3 separate regions of the Homo sapiens genome follow, and all the other regions are linked to region 3. The links are contacts of gene promoters, found by promoter capture Hi-C in blood cells and fetal thymus (Javierre and others, 2016). All regions are on one chromosome and are shown on one strand. The core of a region is centred on a gene start or on the middle of the fragment in contact, and the rest is flanking DNA. Distances in the headings are between cores, read along the strand shown. Region 1 overlaps DCDC2 (doublecortin domain containing 2). Region 2 holds the start of ATXN1 (ataxin 1). Region 3 holds the start of E2F3 (E2F transcription factor 3).

Region 1 (3,033 bases), core at 350-2,849, 3.8 Mb after region 3:
CTGGCACAGATCAAGGATGCCATCTCTAATCACTCCTATTTAACATAGTATTAGAAGTTCTGGCCAGGGCAATCAGGCAAGAGAAAGAAAGGGTATTCAAATAGAAATAGGAAGAGAGGAAGTCAAATTGTCTGTCTTTGTGGATGACATGATTGTATATCTAGAAAACTCCAAGATCTCAGCCCAAAATCTCCTTAAGCTGATAAGTAACTTCAGCAAAGTCTCAGGATACAAAATCAGTGTGCAAAAATCACAAGCATTCCTATACACCAGTAATAGACAAACAGAGAGCCAAATCATGAGTGAACTCCCATTCACAATTGCTACAAAGAGAATAAAATACCTAGGAATACAACTTACAAGAGATGTGAAGGCCCTCTTCAAGGGGAAGGACAAACCACTGCCCAAGCAAATAAGAGAGGACACAAACAAATGGAAAAACATTCCATTCTTGTGGATAGGAAGAATTGATATTGTGAAAATGGCCATACTGCCCAAAGTAAGGTATAGATTCAATGCTATCCCCATCAAGCTACCATTGACTTTCTTCACAAAATTGGAAAAAACTACTTTAAAGTTCATATGGGACCAAAAAAGAGCCCATATAGCCAAGACAATTCTAAGCAAAAGGAACAAAGCTGGAGGCATCATGCTACCTGACTTCAAACTATACTACAAGGCTACAGTAACCAAAACAGCATGATGCTGGTACCAAAACAGATATATAGACCAACTGAGCAGCACAGAGTTCTCAGAAATAACATCGCACATCTACAACCATCTGATCTTTGACAAACCTGACAAAAACAAGCAATGGGGAAAGGATTCCCTATGTAATAAATGGCGTTGGGAAAACTGGCTAGCCACATGCAGAAAACTGGAACTGGACCCCTTTCTTACATCTTATAGAAAAATTAACTTAAGATGGATTAAAGACTTAAATGTAAGACCTAAAACCATAAAAACCCTAGAAGAAAACCTAGGCAATACCATTCAGGACATAGGCATGGGAAAAGACTTCATATGAATAAAACACCAAAAGCAATGGCAACAAAAGCCGAAATTGACAAATGGGATCTAATTAAACTGAAGAGCTTCTGCACAGCAAAAGAAACTATCATCAGAGTGAACAGGCAACCTACAGAATGGGAGAAGATTTTTGCAATCTATTCATCTGACAGGGCTAATATTCAGAATCTACAAGGAACTTAAAAAAATTTACAAGAAAAAAAACAAACAAACCCATCAAAAAGTGGGCAAAGGATATGAGCAGACACTTCTCAAAAGAAGACACTTATGCAGCCAACAAACATAAGAAAAAACGCTCATCATCACTGGTCATTAGAAAAATGTAAATCAAAACTACAATGCGATACCATCTCATGCCACTTAGAATGGCAATCATTAATAAGTCAGGAGGCAACAGATGCTGGAGAGGATGTGGAGAAATAGCAACACTTTTACACTGTTGGTGGGAGTGTAAATTAGTTCAACATTGTGGAAGACAATGTGGCGATACCTCAAGGATCTAGAGCCAGAAATACCCTTTGACCCAGCAATCTCATTACTGGGTATATACCTGAAGGATAGTAAACCAATCTACTATAAAGACACATGCACACTTATGTGTACTGCAGCGCTATTCACAATAGCAAAGACTTGGAACCAACCCAAATGCCCATCAATGATAGACTGGATAAAGAAAATATGGAACATATACACCACGGAATACTATGCAGCCATAAAAAAGGATGTGTTCGTGTCTTTTGCAGGGACATGAATGAAGCTGGAAACCATCATTCTCAGCAAACTAACACAGGAACAGAAAACCAAACACTACACATTCTCACTCATAAGTGGGAGCTGAACAATGAAAACACATGGACACAGAGAGGTGAACATCATACACTGGGGCCTGTCAGGGTTTGGGGAGCTAGGGGAGGGACAGCATTAGGAGAAATGCCTAATGTAAATGATGGGTTGATGAGTGCAGCAAACCACCATGGCACCTCTGTAACAAACCTGCACGTTCTGCACATGTATGCCAGAACTTAAAGTATAATTTTTTAAAAATGCTTTTCTAAGTGGGTAAGTACTTTTATTCCAGATGAAAATCCCAAACCAATACTCTTTTTTATATCAAACTTTATCACTTTATCTCATACCTAATCCCATCCCATCTTGCTCTTCAATGCTCTTTATTAAGGAAATACCATTTGCTGTTATTTAAAAAGACTTGGTCTAAATGGCTATTCTTCACAGGAATACTAGGAGAAAGAATGGTGTTTTGTTATGTTTTTAAGGTTGATCAGCCACATAGTACCTTAGAGGGTTTAATTCATACAGGTATAGGAACAATTTGTAGGAGATAACACAAAACTTGGAAAAAAAACACTATAATTGTCTTACACATATTTTTTAAGGCATGGAGATTACCTGATCGACTGGAACCTCAACCTGAGTATCTTCATCTTCTTGGACTTCTGCTGCCCCCCGTGTTTCAGACCTCTCTGCTCCAGCTTTGAAAATGCCTTCATCTATTGAGACAAACACACAGTGAAAATCAAAATCCAATTGTGACATCGTGTGGCTGAATGCTGGAATTACAATCAAATGCTTATTTTTAATAGACATTTGGATTCCCTTTTTAGTTGATAGTATTTTTGTGCACCCCCTCCTCCGACCACCACACCACCCCCAGTTGTTCCACATTTTCATTGAGAAAACATTCAGTGGTCAAAACAAGGCTGACCCAGCAGGGTAAAGTTCTGTCGAAGCTCCTGTTCACCCTTTGGCTACTGATTTACTAACATAGCCCTTTGTACAGGCATTGAGATGAGAAGAAATTCACAAGTATCATCCCAGTTCTCCCCTCCTATTCACAAAACAGTGAAAATGCTTGCTGCTTTAAAATACTACTTTTAGAAATTTACCTTTCCCAAGAGAATGCTATGCATTCAATATAACGTATTGGAATAATTCTCTCTATTCAGAGTATTATAAAAAATGTTTTTACTGCAGCCAAATCATAGA
Region 2 (3,032 bases), core at 533-3,032, 3.6 Mb before region 3:
CCCGCCGTCCTTAGAAACGGATTTTTTTTTGTTTTGTTTTGTTTTCTGGCAGAGTCTCGATCACCACCCTACTTCCACCCCCACTAAGGTTCTTGCTCAATCTCCCTAGAAAACCTGAATTGTTTCATCCCTTTCAGTCAGCCCCCTACGTGGTCTGAAACAAAATGAAAGCACAAGCCACGGAGTTTAAGAAGGCAGCCTGAAGGCGGGGGGCTGAAGAGGGGTCGGGGCGCTGCAGAGTCAGCCAAGTAGCCAAGGAAGGGCCCCCTCCGCGTCGCGACGGCCCTCGCCCCCCGCCCGGCGCGCGCGCGCACAAATACACACACACAGTCACTCACACACTCACTCACACTCACGCCGCGCTCCGACACCGCCTCACCTCTCGCTCCGCCCGTCCGGCCCCCTTCCCTGCCCCCTGCGGGACCGGCCTGCGCGCAGCACTGGAACCACGTAGGAGGAGGCGGCGGCGCCCCCGGGAGTGGCAGAGTCTCCGGCCCGGCCCAGAGTGAACGAGCAGTGGGGCTCCAGGGCGCATCCCAATCCCCGCAGCGCCTCCTCCGCGGCGGCCGCCGCCTCCTCCTCCTTCCCCTCCTCCTGGCTTCATTCACCCTCCCAGCAGCCGCGCAGCCGTTCACTCCCGGCTCAGGGCAGCGCCTGCCGCGGCTCCTCGTCTCCTGCCGCGGGTGCTGGCGGGGGCGCCGGCCCGGACTGGGGCGCTCGCGGGCTCCCGGCTCCGGGCGGCGGCTGCCGCTGCACATGATCAGGAAGCGGCCGCACCAACAGGGCGGCGGTGGCGGCGGCGGCCAGGGCCGTCACCGCCACTCCAGCCGCGCTCCAGGCACCCGCACACCCGCTACCCCCGCGCGGTCCCCGAGGCCACCCCTCTGCGCCCCCCGCCCGGCACCCGGCCGCGCGCAAAGTCCCGTCCCGGCTGCAGGAGCAGTCCCTTCCCCGCCCGCAGCCGCACACCCGGCGAGGCCGGCCCTCCGAGGGGAGACCCCCGCCCCAGGGCGCCGAGGCCGGGCGACCACCCGCGGAGAAGTCCAGCCCTCCGTGAGACCCCCTCTCTCTCACCGCCCTCTCCGGGGAGGAGGAATGGGAAGAGGGCGGCCGGGAAAGGGACCACCCCCCAACCCCAGCCGCCGCCTCCCCCCTGCGCCACCCGGAGGGAGGAGGACATGGCTCTCCGCACTTGCGACCGGACCAGCAGCCGGGGGAGCGGGGCGCCGCCGCCGCTCTCCCCGCCCGCGCCCCCCGCCCGGGCGCGCCCCCTAGCCCGGCGGGCGCCCACCCAGCCCCTGACAGCCCCCCCGCCGGCCGCCCCTGCGCCCAGAGTGGGGGTGTCGGCCCGGGAGCCTGGAGCCGGGGACGGTTGTATGTACACACATACACACACACACACACACACACGCACACACACAGAACACGACGCGTCGATTTCCTTCGCTCCTCTTCCAGCTGTTTTCCGTGCAGCCGATTGGGGTTTTGGGTTTGTTTGCTGGTTGTTGCTTTTGCCCCTCTCGGGAGATCGGGGGAGGAGGGATTTTAATCTAAATAAGGGGAGAAGGGAATGGGGGAGGGGGGAAAGAATCGGAGGAGGAAAAAAAAATAGTCACTTACTGTAAAGTGTAAATGGATCTGGGGTTGCGTGGGGAAGGGGGGGCAGAGGGAGAGAAACAATGTCTTGCGGCTGCTGTTGCTCTGGCTGCTGCTCCACGGGGCTTGTTTTGGATCCCCCTGCAGTGAAACAGGTCCTGTACGGCTCCGCCACTGTAGTAGAAATGATGTCTGCGGTATACTCTGCTCTCTCCTCCTCCTCCTCCTCCTCCTCCTCCCCCTCCTCCCGCTCCCCTCCCCTCCCTCCTCCCTCCGCCCGCCCGCCCTCCCTCCCTCCCTCGCGCTCTCTCGCGCTCGCTCGCTCGCTCGCTCCAGTATGTAAATGTGTAATAGAAGCCAAATATGGAGCAGTTGGCTGCCGCCGCCGCAGCTCAAGGATCCGACTTCATGGGGGTGGGGGGCACCCTCTGGCGGGCGGCCCGGCGAGCCGCACAGAGCACGGCGAGCGCACCGCGCGGCGGCCGGCCCGCGCCCTTAACCCTTCGCTGCGCGCCGCCCGGGGAGGCGGGCACCTTTCCCAAAGAGTGGCTCGGGATGGGGTGCGGGGGAGGGGAGACGCGGACCGGAGGGCAAGGTTCCTTCCAGGTTTGGGAAGGGGGCGGGGAGCTGGGCGATGAGGTAATTTGAGCGGTGACGGGTCGGTCCTCGCGCGCCTCCCTGGGTCCCTGCACCTAGTTGGAGGGGACTGAACGACAACGGGGCGCTACTCAGGCAACCTGGGGGACTCCCCCAAGGGCTGTCAGGCTTCAGCTGGGAGCCGATGCAACACCCCAGCGGGGAGGGGAGGTCGGCCCATTCTAATCCCGACGTGTCCTTGGTCCCAGGCGCTCGGAGCAGCATCTGAGAGGGCTCACTCTGATCATCAGCTGCACGTTAAGCCACAAACCGGCGTCGCTTCGGCGTTCCGGAACCCAGGCCTGGGGGCCGCGGGGATTGCCTCTGCGTGCAACTCCGGAAAGTTTCAAGGGGTCCCCCGACTGCACAGGTACCCTCACCTTTCCTGCCGGCGAACGCTGGCGACCGCCCGACCCTGCCCTCTTTCTCTCTTCGCACGCAGGTCCGGAAATCGGCTTTGATATGGAACTACTCCGCTCTAGCCTGGAAAGGAGACCCGCGCACTCCTCTCGCAGCTAATTTCGGATCATTAATTTAATCGGAAATGAGGTAACCAGTGTAGGAGACAGAGAAAGCAACCGGAGCATCAAATGGCAGTTCTCGAGAATCGACGAGGAACTTAAATCTGGACTCAGGGTTTCAGTGCGGTCTCCGACTCCCACCACCCCGCCCCTCCGCCTGTCTCGCCGCCAGGTGTGACCTCCACGCGAAGGAATCTTCTTCGGATGGGTGCACCTTGCCAACAGGTGTGGCACCTGGAGGACTAGGAGGCGCCTCCAGACTAAGGGCGCTCAGTGCGG
Region 3 (3,203 bases), core at 408-2,907:
TTGCAGTGAGCTGAGATCGTGCCATGGCACTCCAGCCTGGGCAACAACAGCAAGACTCTGTCTCAAAAAATAAAGATAGTGTCACCTCTACCAGTGTCGACAAATGTTTAGGGCTATGGATCCTCAACTAGCCTGAATGCAAGACTAAAATATTCCTGAGCCTGGTGCAAGGTTTAATGGAACTTTTAACTCATCTGTTTCAGAAAAGGTAACAAGGCTAAAATATTAAGGAGTCCTAGCCTGATCTGACACATCTTGTCAGGTGTTTCATAGCACTCTGAGTAAGAGTTTTGGGAAATTAATAATAGTAATAAAAATCTTGTGAAAGGGCTCAAGGTGTTGCAATCCTCATCACCTATGAGCACCAATTCTGCAGCTGTTTTGCACGTAACTATAAATTATGATCTAGTCTCTACATACATAACTTCCCCCACATTCCTGCAGGGGTCTCTTTTCCTGCTCAATCTCAGGAGCAAGCTTTAATTTTAAGACCCATGAATACTTGAACAAATTCAGGAGTCAGTTTGACACATCATTTTATATTTTTCTGATGACAATTTCTAGTTTACTTTTTAAAAAAAGACACTATTTTAAAAATACTTTGGGATAGGTTTGAGTCGTTGTGTTTGCTTCCAGTCAGAGAACTTCCTACAAAACTGAAGATATAAAGTGCTGATGCCTGGGCGTGCCTGCGTTCGTTGGGGGCACGACGTCATCGTGGGAAGCGTGTACTTTTTCGGATTACTGCTTGGCGGATTAGAAACCCGTAGATCAGTTCTAGGTTAGCCCTGATTAACTGCCCTGGGTGTTTCTGGGCCAGAGGGAATGTCTGCTGGATTCAAACCAATATCCGTTGTAAGACAAAAGAGTTAATTTGTACTTTACCCCTATCCAGGCTAATAATGAAGGTACCGGGAATGATCTGGAATGTTAACTGGTGCCCGCAATCGCGTCTGCTGAACCTTCTGCCCCCACGATTCTGTCTGCCCACATGCTTCTGTCTATCAGCCCCGGCCTCGGGATCAGCTCTCGCCGCGTCATTGGTTGGATTTCAGGAAGGGAGAAGCCCACGATTTAAAGGGCTCCTTTTGCACCTGCCAGACATCGTCCGCATGGTCCAACTTGCCTTTGGCACGTATCTGGAAAAATCTCCTGCGCTGTTCGTTTATTGCACTGACTGGTCAAAGGAAAGAGTGTTCCCTTAGTCACCTTGACAATTTCCAAAAGCGAAACTTGGGCTCTAGACTAGATCTACACTGAGTCTGCGGGGCGCGGAGTCCCTGCCCAGGTCAGTAGCGCCGGCCCGGCGGGCGGGCGGGGACAGGGGCGGAGCCTAGGCCAGGCGTGGTCTTCCGTGGGAGAGAAGGAAATTCTTTGCCCCACCCCCTAAAAACTGCTCTTCTGCCAGCCAATCAAGGAGGCCTATGCAAATAGGGTCCCTGTCGCCCCGGTAACCATGATGCACGGCAGCCAATGGAAACCAGCAAGTCGCGGCCCTGCTCCATGATTGGGACTGAAGTAAGGAGGTAGCGGCCCAATGGGCTGTGGGAACGGTCCTCGGCGGGTTGAGGGGCGGGGATATGCAAATATGGTTTGAAAAGCCGGCGGGAAATCCGAGTTTCGCGGGAGGACCTTGGCGCGTAAACCGTATCCCTTCATTCATTGTCAGCAGCAGCTTCCTGGAGCCATTTTTCAGCTGCCGGCCGCAGCACCCGGGCTGCCGCCGCCGCCTCGCAATCCGTTGCATCGGCCGCCCCCGACGCCTCCATCCCCGCTTGGGGCCCGATATCCGTGCGGCCGGGACCCTCCTCTCTCCAGAGCCCCGATTATTTTTGGCCCCCGGGGCCTGTGCGGTGCGGAAAAATAAAAAGAAAAGAGAGAGAGGGGGCTCGGAAGCGCCGGGCGGGGAGGAGAGAAGGAGGAGAGACTTGGAAACTCCGACTGCAAATAATAAAGAAATTGAAAACAATACATTAATATACCATAACACTAAAAAGAGCAGGAGCGAGAGATGAGAAAGGGAATCCAGCCCGCTCTGGAGCAGTACCTGGTGACCGCCGGGGGTGGGGAGGGGGCGGCTGTCGTCGCCGCCGCCGCTGCAGCCTCCATGGACAAAAGGGCACTGCTAGCCAGCCCCGGCTTCGCCGCCGCCGCCGCCGCTGCCGCCGCCCCGGGCGCGTACATCCAGATCCTCACCACGAACACTTCCACCACCTCCTGTTCCTCCTCCCTCCAAAGCGGCGCCGTAGCCGCCGGCCCCCTCCTCCCCAGTGCCCCCGGCGCGGAGCAGACCGCCGGCAGCCTCCTCTACACCACGCCGCACGGACCCTCCAGCAGAGCCGGGCTGCTGCAGCAGCCACCAGCGCTGGGACGCGGCGGCAGCGGCGGCGGCGGCGGCCCTCCGGTAATACCCTCCCTCCCCACCGTCCCCAGCCCCGGCGGGAGGTGGGCTCGCACCGCGCGGGGTCGTGGGCGCGCTGCGGGCCGCTCGGGGAGAGCACTGGGCCGAGCATCGTGGGCCTCGGGGGCTGCCCCTCCAACGAGGGTTCATTGTTAGACCTGAGTGCTCTTCCCGGCGCCAGGAGGGTCGGGGGGCTCGGCCAGGCGCGCGGGGCGGCGGGGATTGCCTTGGCGCGAACCACATCAAACACTCCAAAACTTTTCGCGGCCCCCCCTTCTTTTCCTGCACTTTTCCCTACCCCCACTCTCCCTTCCCCTCCAACTCGAAGCTTCCTCTTTCTCGGGCGTAGGAAGGGGTCACGCCCCGGATGGAGAAGGGGGTGGGGGAGGGAGTAGTGAACTGGGGTGTGGGGGGCTCTGAGGGGTTGAAACCGGGGGACTGTTGGGGTGCTAGCCCCCAGTCGGCCTTGGAGGCTCGTTGGCGGCCGGGGGTCCCTGCGGCGTGCTCGGAGCGCAGGGGATCGGCGGGGCTGCGCTTGACACATTTTAGGATCTGTAACTCCCGGCAACAAAGGGGCTGGGGGAGGTGGAGGGGAGTCGGGCGTGGGGGAGGTGGGGCTGGAAGCCGGGTGCGGACTGGGGCGTGGGCTGTCTGGGGTGAGGGGCTCGCGGGCTGGCGCTCTGGCCTGGGCGCATCCTGGCAGTGGCAGCGGCGGCGCCCGCGTGGCCCAAGCGCCCAGGCCTTCCTCGCCGGGCCCCGGGCCTGCCCTTGACCCGCCTCTCCCCTTGCCCCTTCCTTCCCC

What was found. Contacts are between HindIII fragments. The CHiCAGO score rates a contact against its expected background, and 5 or more counts as called.
Region 1: a fragment that was not itself captured here is called in contact with the fragment with the promoter of E2F3 in region 3 in 2 of 17 cell types (fetal thymus and endothelial precursors); the score reaches 8.1 in fetal thymus.
Region 2: a contact is called between the fragment with the promoter of ATXN1 here and the fragment with the promoter of E2F3 in region 3, in 8 of 17 cell types (naive CD8 T cells, total B cells, total CD4 T cells and 5 more). The highest score is 13.3, in naive CD8 T cells.

Annotation. Positions count from the first base shown.
Region 1 is chr6:24,202,566-24,205,598 of GRCh38, forward strand. It overlaps DCDC2 (doublecortin domain containing 2), which reads right to left. Exons shown (of 10, transcript NM_016356.5): 8 at 2,437-2,537. Among named protein-coding and RNA genes, the nearest start is that of NRSN1, 78 kb to the left of the region's middle. The HindIII fragment of the contact is 3,786 bases long and covers 1-3,033 here.
Region 2 is chr6:16,759,678-16,762,709 of GRCh38, forward strand. ATXN1 (ataxin 1) reads right to left here and starts at 1,783. Exons shown (of 8, transcript NM_001128164.2): 1 at 1,621-1,783. ATXN1-AS1 (ATXN1 antisense RNA 1) reads left to right here and starts at 1,461. Exons shown (of 3, transcript NR_136240.1): 1 at 1,461-1,489; 2 at 2,442-2,602; 3 at 2,675-3,032. RefSeq lists silencers at 191-550, 561-1,040, 1,111-1,240, 1,717-1,876, 1,884-2,099 and 1 more and an enhancer at 2,237-3,032. The HindIII fragment of the contact is 4,299 bases long and covers 1-3,032 here.
Region 3 is chr6:20,400,222-20,403,424 of GRCh38, forward strand. E2F3 (E2F transcription factor 3) reads left to right here and starts at 1,658. Exons shown (of 7, transcript NM_001949.5): 1 at 1,658-2,404. The coding sequence starts at 2,012. It overlaps LOC124901482, which reads right to left and starts at 2,551. Exons shown (of 3, transcript XM_047419652.1): 1 at 2,204-2,551; 2 at 2,048-2,159; 3 at 520-1,941. The coding sequence starts at 2,551. The coding sequence ends at 1,334. RefSeq lists silencers at 1,233-1,472, 2,323-2,792, 2,993-3,203 and an enhancer at 1,571-2,095. The HindIII fragment of the contact is 2,252 bases long and covers 476-2,727 here.